Regions from separate parts of the Homo sapiens genome. Here region 2 is linked to region 1. Evidence: promoter capture Hi-C in 16 types of primary human blood cells and fetal thymus (Javierre and others, 2016). All regions are on one chromosome and are shown on one strand. Each heading gives the region's core, a stretch centred on a gene start or on the middle of the fragment in contact. The rest is flanking DNA. Distances are from core to core; before and after follow the strand shown.

Region 1 (3,453 bases), core at 586-3,085:
GTAATACAGCATTTTGATGTTCACATAACCATGCCCCCAAAAATCTGCAGATGCAACTGACAACTCAGGGCAATGCCACAAGTTTCTCCTGAAGCTTCATCTGTAGACCCAACAGAGCCCCAGGAACTCCCAGGAAAGGCAGAGGTACCTCACTTTGAGAGGCACAGAACTGAGTAAGACTCCACAGCAAATCTGGGAGTCGGCAGGGCCACTGACCAAGAAGGAAGGAGGTGTGGCCTACAGGCCATAGTCAGGACCTTTCCTTTCTCACCACTGACCATGTCACCCCACTGCACTGCCCACCCTAATCTGCAGGGAAAACAGCTAACCAGACATGACAGGACTGGATCCAATGCCTAACTTCAAACCCACCAGTCTCTCCTACAAAGTCAAAAGCGTACTTGCCCTGAAGAGCAGTGACACAAACTCGGGGCCTTTTTGTGATTTGGGGGTAGGGCCTGCCCTACCGTATCCGTTGCCTCTGGATAAGGGCATGCCTAGCGAGGGCAGCACACTCCTAGCCCAGCACCCTCCTGCCTCAACCTCCCTCCACCCTCTACCCACCTGGAAAGGCTGTGGAACCCAAGGTGACCCTGAAAAGGTGGTCCTTCTGGCAGGATTGCTGATGGGGCCTGCCCTGCCCAGGCCCAGAGCTAGCCCTCTCTGCCAGGCAGGCACTGTTTAAAACCTGCAGACATCCTCGACAGACATTCTCTAAGACCTTGCCCACTCCAGTAATCCACAAGATTGAGGGCAGACAGGAAAGGAAAGGGTATCACTCAGACAGACTTGTCTTTCCCTGGAAGGCCAGCTGTACGGCTTCCATTCACTCCTGGAGCTGACCTGCCTCCCTCTTTGTCCTTTTCTGGCTGTGCTTAAGAGCCTAGCTTCCCTGGCAGCCTAAGGTCAGGGTCTGTGACTGGGATGCGTGCGGAGAAGGGGAGGAAGGCCGGTGACAGGCGGCTAAGGCAGCAGCAACGGGGGAGATATGAGAGCGGACAGAGGACCCAGGGAGAGGCCGGGCCCTCAGCTCACTGCCCCGCGGCCCCAGGGGCCACCTGTGCCCTGACACCACCTGACCCTCAGCAAACTTCCGCCCAGTGGCTTCCTGCCAGAAATCTAGCCAGCCGTGCACCCGCCTCCCTTACAAACAATCCTTGCCCAAAGGTTAGCAATGTGGCTGCCGTCACCTACGCCCAAGTCAACAGTTGACGCTTTAGTACGGGCCAGGTGGGCATGCGCCCCGTGAGCATCACCGAGAAAGTCTCACAAAAGCCCCTGGGGAGCGGGGGGAGGGCTCAGTCACGTGCCCCAGGCCGGTGCCCCACCCCCGCCCCCGCCGCCCCCCCGCCCTGGGGTTTCTGGTCCCTCCGGGAATGTTCCCAGAAGCGCCAGCCCAGCCCAGCCCGGGGTACCAAGGCGCCCAGGCCCGAGCGGGTAACCATGGCAACCCCAGGACGCCGGCTCCCGGCGGCCCCGCCATTCCTCCGCCCCGGGAGGCGCCCGGCAGACCCCCGACCCCCAGCGGGTCCTTTCCCCTGGGGCCGCCGGGGCGGGGCGGGGCAGGGCAGGGCGAGGAGCGCATGCGCGGCGGGGCCGGCCCCTCTCCCCGACTGGATACTCACAGACTGCCCCCAGCACCCCAGACAGGCGACACAGCCAGCGGTACCACCACGTCATGCCCTCTTCCTGCGCGGGCGGCGCAGAGCTGGCGGACGCCCCGGGCGCCCCACCTGAGCTGCTCATGGTGCCACCGTCAGGCGCAGCTCACAGCCCTCACAAAGGGCTCGGTAGCCGGCCGCGTCCGAGCCGGCGCGCTGCCTTGTGGGAGAGGGAGCATATTAGCATAGGGGGCGGGGCTTTCAGGCTGCGGCGAGGCGCGCCCGAAGGGAGGCGGGTGCTCATTAACATAGTGAGCGGGACCCTCATGCCGCGACTAGGGGCGTTTGAGGGGAGGTAGGTGCTCATTATTGTAGGGGGCGGGACCCGCAGGCTGCGGCGAGGAGCTGGGGGTGGGGAGCTCGTTAGCATACGGGGCGGGGCTCGCAGGCATCGGAGAGGTGTGCCCGAGGGGGGCGGGCGTCATTAGCGTAGGGGGCGGGGGCTCGCAGTTTGCGGCGACTTGCTCCCAAAGGAGGCGGGCGCTTATTAGCATAGGGGGCGGGGCCTGGAGGCGCGCAGACACCTTAGCGGTCAGAGCCTCACACCAGGACACACGGGTGGGGCTTCGCAGGGAGCTGGCTAATGCGCCATCCTCGGAGTGGAATCCTGATTGGATTTTCTTCCTGGATAGGAAGAAGATAACTAGGGACGTCCAGCGGCTTGCTCAGATCAAGATAGAGCCAACCGCGGCCAGCGAATCCCTGCCTTGCCATGGGATGGGTTTTCAAGCCAGGTCTGGACAGCTTATAAGAAAAAAACGCCGGTCAGCCTGCATGTTTTATTTATTGGTACCCGAGGAAATGGGGGCTGCTTTTCCAGAGTCCCCACCTCCAACCCCCTAGCCTTTTGGACATTGGAGAAGACTCTAAAGTAGATACCTAAGATTGGAAAAAGTTCGAATTGGAAAGCACTGAGACCAGGGGTCAACCCTCCAGGGCTGGCCAGACACGGAACAAATGTTCAATGACCCTCAGGTTCCTTCCTTTCCCTTCCAGGACTGAGGGTCCTGCATCTCCGGTACCCATGATTGGAGGGTCCAGTACTGGCCCCGCAGGCTGGCCTGAGCCTTCAGGAAGCCCTCGCTGAACTCCATCTCAGCCTGGCTGCTCTCTGACTCCCAGTAGAGCACCTGCTGCCCATGGAACGCTGTGGTCCTCAAGCTGTGGGTGTCCCGGATCTGAGAGAAAAGGGGCAGCCCAGAAGGACCGGCCACAAGTAATAATTAGCACTCACGGAAGCCTTCGTGTGCAAGGGCTCACAGATTCCGGATCACATTTAATGCTTACAAAGCCCTACTAGGAATACGCCATTACTCTACCCAGAAAACCGAGGTCCAGGGACGTTACATCACTTCCCCAAGGACACACAGTCAGGGTGCCAGAGCGGGGCCAGGCTGCCTCCTCTGGGGAAGCTGATACCCTGCAGAACACAGTTCTCCCAGGACACTTGAAACCTCGGGGAGGGTGCAGGGTGCTATTCTGTCCAAGTTATATCAGACTGTAAAATTATGCTTCAGTCTTGGGTTAGCTGTCAGTCTACATCAGAAAGGTCTTTACCATTCTTTACCATTTCGCTTTTTTTTTTTTTTTTTTTTTGAGACAGAGTCTCACTCTGTTGCCCAGGCTGGAGTGCAGTGGTGCGATCTGGGCTTAGTGCAACCTCCACCTCCCGGGTTCAAGTGATTCTTGTGCCTCAGCCTCCCAAGTAGCTGGGATTACAGGCACACGCCACCATGCCTGGCTACTTTTTCTATTTTTAGTAGAGACAAGGTTTCATCATGTTGGCCAGGCT
Region 2 (3,738 bases), core at 1,000-3,499, 280 kb after region 1:
AGATTTTGAGAAGTCTGAGAAGGATTGGTGTTACATGTTAAATGTCTGGGAGGATACGCCAGTGAAGTCACCTGGTTCTGGGCTTTTCTTTGTGGGAAAGTTTCTGATCACTGACTCAATCTCCTCACTCTGACAGGTCTGTTTAGATTTTCCATTTCTTGACTCAGGTGTGGTAGTTTGTATGTTTCTAGGAATGTGTCCATTTCATTTACGTTAACCAACTAGTTGGCCTACAATTGTTCCTAGCATTCTCTTTATAAATCCTTTTTATTTCCGTGGGGTCATTGGTGATGTCACCCTGTCATTTCTGATTTTAGTAATTTGAGTCTTATCTCTTTTTTTCTTAGTCAACTAGCTAAAGGTTTCTCAATTTTGTTAACCTTTCATGGAAGGAACATGTTTTCACTGATTTCCTCTAGTGCTCCTCTCTCCTCTATCCCATTTATCTCTGCTCTAATCTTTATTATTTCCTTCCATCTGCTAACTTTATGGGGTTGGGGGGGTTTTTTGTTTGTTTGTTTGTTTGTTTGCTTTACGACAGGGTCTCACTCTGTGACCCAGGCTGGAGTACAGTGGTGCCATCTTGGCTCACTGCAGCCTTGATCTCATGGACTCAAGCTATCCTGCCACCTCAGCCTCTCAAGTAGCTGGGACCACAAGCACATGCTAATTTTTTAAATTTTTTATAGAGACAGGGTTTCACCATCTTGCCCAAGCTGGTCTTGAACTCCTGAGCTCAAGCAGTCCTTCTGCCTCAGCCTCCCACAGTGCTGGGATTACAAGCATGAGCCACCATGCCTGCAAGGGCATCTTCTAATCAACCCCTGGCACCAACCAGGGCTTCCCTTCCTAGGGTCTCACCTGCAGAGTGGCTAAGCACTTACAGACGGGAGTGGACAAAGCCATCCAGACACCCTCCACCCACCTGTCAGCCCAGGCCACCTCCAGATTCCAGTTTCACACAGAACCTGTCCTGCTGCTGGGCAGGACACCTCCTGGTCACCAGGCTGACCTGGCCTCTGTGGACTACTCACTGCCTTAGGTGCCTTTTGCTCCCCAGGATCCAAAGGAGTAGCTGACTTTTTCCAAGGAGCACTGCCCATGGGGACGGAGCCCTGACACCAAAGGGACGGCTGCCCTCTGTGCGCTTCCCTCACACTTTCCCAGATATGAGTCACAGCCACCTGTGCCAACGAGCACCCTTAGAACACCCATTCACCCAGCAGGTGTGACCGCTGCAAAGCTGAACCTTCCATCTGGCCACCAGGCCCCCAGCATGGAGCCTGGGACCAGCAGCAGCCCCTACTCCAAGGCTGGAACCAGCTCAGATGCAACCCTCTCAATCCAAGGAGTCTGGGACTCCACATTCTGGGACTCCAGCTAATTTTATGCATAAAAATTATGGGCCCAGAACTTGTGCATTTTTAGAAAAATGGGTTAACCTAACTAAAGAAAACTTAGAATTAAGATGGCTGCAATGGGGAAGTTTTAATTTGGATAAAATTGTTTATTTATGAGGCATATTAGAAAAGGGGGAATGAAAAACCCCATAAAACAGTGGGATGTGTATTCTTTTATTGGTATGCAGAAGCCCCTAAAAGAGTAAATGAATCAAAAATTGACTCCTTAAAAGATTCTTTGCAAAAAGCAAACGAAAAGCTTAAGCAACAAACTAACGACATGATGAAAGAGGACTGTACTGTGACTGACCTCATCCTGACTGTTCCTTCTCTTTATCCTTCTCTACCTACATACTCTGAGTCCACTAACCTTTTTGCTAAATTACCCTTTCAGGCCAGGCTTGGTGGCTCATGCCTATAATCCCAGCACTTTGGGAGGCCGAGGTGGGTGGATCACCTGAGATCAGGAGTTTGAGACCAGCCTGGCCAATATGGTGAAACCTCGTCTCTACTAAAAATACAAAATTAGCTGGGCGTGGTGCTGCGTGCCTGTAATCCCAGCCACTCGGGAGGCTGAGGCAGGAGAATTGCTTGAACCCAGGAGGCAGAGGTTGCAGTGAGCCGAGATCATACCACTGCACTCCAGCTTGGGTGACAGAGTGAGACCCTGTCTCAAAAAAATAAAAAATAAAAAATATGTATATATTACCCTTTCACCCTGAAGACGATTAAAAAAATAATAATAAGTTAGACAGGCACCTTACAAAGTGAGACTTTCTGATCAGTCATGCCTGCCTGCTGTAACTACTTTCACTCCATGGTCTAAAACTGAGCTTAGAGCCATTGTGAGGGACTTGCCTGATCCAAGAGAAAATCCTCAAAAATTTACTGAGGAATTTAGAATCCTCATAGGAGCTTATGATCCAGGACTTCCTGACCTTCACTAATGTATTCCCGTGATATTGGGGCCTGGTAAAGCTCGGAAATGGACGGCAGCAGCAGAATGGGGCAAACCTGAGGAGGATGTTAAAGACCCCTCCAAAAGCTCCTCACAAGAAGGACCAAAAGTCGCTGGAAAAATTGCTGAAAACCTTTTAAATTCAATTCCTAAAATTTTTCCGCAAAAAATGGACTGGTCCATCATACAATCTTGTAAACATAACAAAAAAAAAGATTTCAGTTTCAGATTACAGAACTCACTTAGAAATGCTGTTTGTGAAACATTCTGGGATCCAAGTACAACAAGAAGTATTTCCTGCAAGGACTGAAACGGCATTAAGTGCTCTATTTGTAAATGGACTCCATCCCGAACTCAGCAATTTAATTAAAATACATGAGTTGGGATAGGAAGTTACAGATATGACTAAATTGTTGGCCTTAGCTGGACATTTTGAGAGGACTCTAGAGCAAGAAAAAACTCAAAAGGCTAACAAGCTTATGGCCCTTCAGCTATAACAGTTACAGGGACCGGGACCCAAGGGATTAATCATTTTATGTATTTATTTAGAGACGGAGTTTCACTCTGTCACCCAGGCTGGAGTGCAGTGGTGAGATCTCGGCTCACTGCAACCTCCACCTCCCACGTTCAAGCGATTCTCATGCCTCAGCCTCCCAGGTAGCTGGGATTACAGGTGCGTGCCACCGTGCCCGGCTAATTTTTGCATTTTTAGTAGAGACAGCTTTTCACCATGTTGGCCAGGCTGGTCTCGAACTCCTGACCTCAAAAGATCCGCCCGCCTTGGCCTCCCAAATTGCTGGGATTACAGGCGTGAGCCACTGCGCTCTGCCTCCTTCTCATTTTAAATCACAATCAGGAGGTCCTAGAACAAGAAGTTCTTTGCCCCAAGATGTCTGCCTGTATTGCAAACAACCAGGGCACTGGAAAAGGGATTGTCCGCTTTTCTATCAGTCCACCAATGAGCCTCCCTTTCGGCCAAACTGTTTCACCACTAGAGGGAGCCCAAGAGACCTTAGGCCTCCTGATAATAATCAACCTTGATGAGGTTCCAAGGGATTCTCCAGTAGATTGCTCTCCGTGCCTTTAAATCAACGTGGAGAAACAGGTTAAAATAAATGGGGAGTTGTGTACAGTCCTCGGGGATATGGGGGCTACTCTATCTACCATAAACCCCACTTTAATAAGCCAACAAATCCCTTGGAGTAAAAAGGTCATTTCTGTGGTGGGGGTTTCAAATCAAGTTTAAGAGGTTCCCGTATCTGAACCAATCCAATTAGCTTTGGGCCCCTTTTCAGAAAAACACTTTTTTACTATGTTATACTGCTCCAGTAAACTTGTTAGGGCGAGATTTGCTTTCAAAGCTAAAAGGGCACATAAAAT

The links. The method cuts DNA at HindIII sites, captures the fragments that hold promoters and counts their contacts. A CHiCAGO score of 5 or more calls a contact.
Region 2: a fragment that was not itself captured here is called in contact with the fragment with the promoter of CACFD1 in region 1 in 1 of 17 cell types (M1 macrophages); the score reaches 5.5 in M1 macrophages.

What each region holds. Positions count from the first base shown.
Region 1 is chr9:133,458,360-133,461,812 of GRCh38, reverse strand. It overlaps CACFD1 (calcium channel flower domain containing 1), which reads right to left and starts at 1,835. Exons shown (of 5, transcript NM_017586.5): 1 at 1,626-1,835. The coding sequence starts at 1,746. It overlaps ADAMTS13 (ADAM metallopeptidase with thrombospondin type 1 motif 13), which reads right to left. Exons shown (of 29, transcript NM_139027.6): 29 at 2,427-2,839. The coding sequence ends at 2,633. RefSeq lists silencers at 1,320-1,619, 1,910-2,009, 2,020-2,239. The HindIII fragment of the contact is 16,509 bases long and covers 97-3,453 here.
Region 2 is chr9:133,179,714-133,183,451 of GRCh38, reverse strand. No RefSeq gene overlaps it. Among named protein-coding and RNA genes, the nearest start is that of GBGT1, 18 kb to the right of the region's middle. The HindIII fragment of the contact is 1,175 bases long and covers 1,662-2,836 here.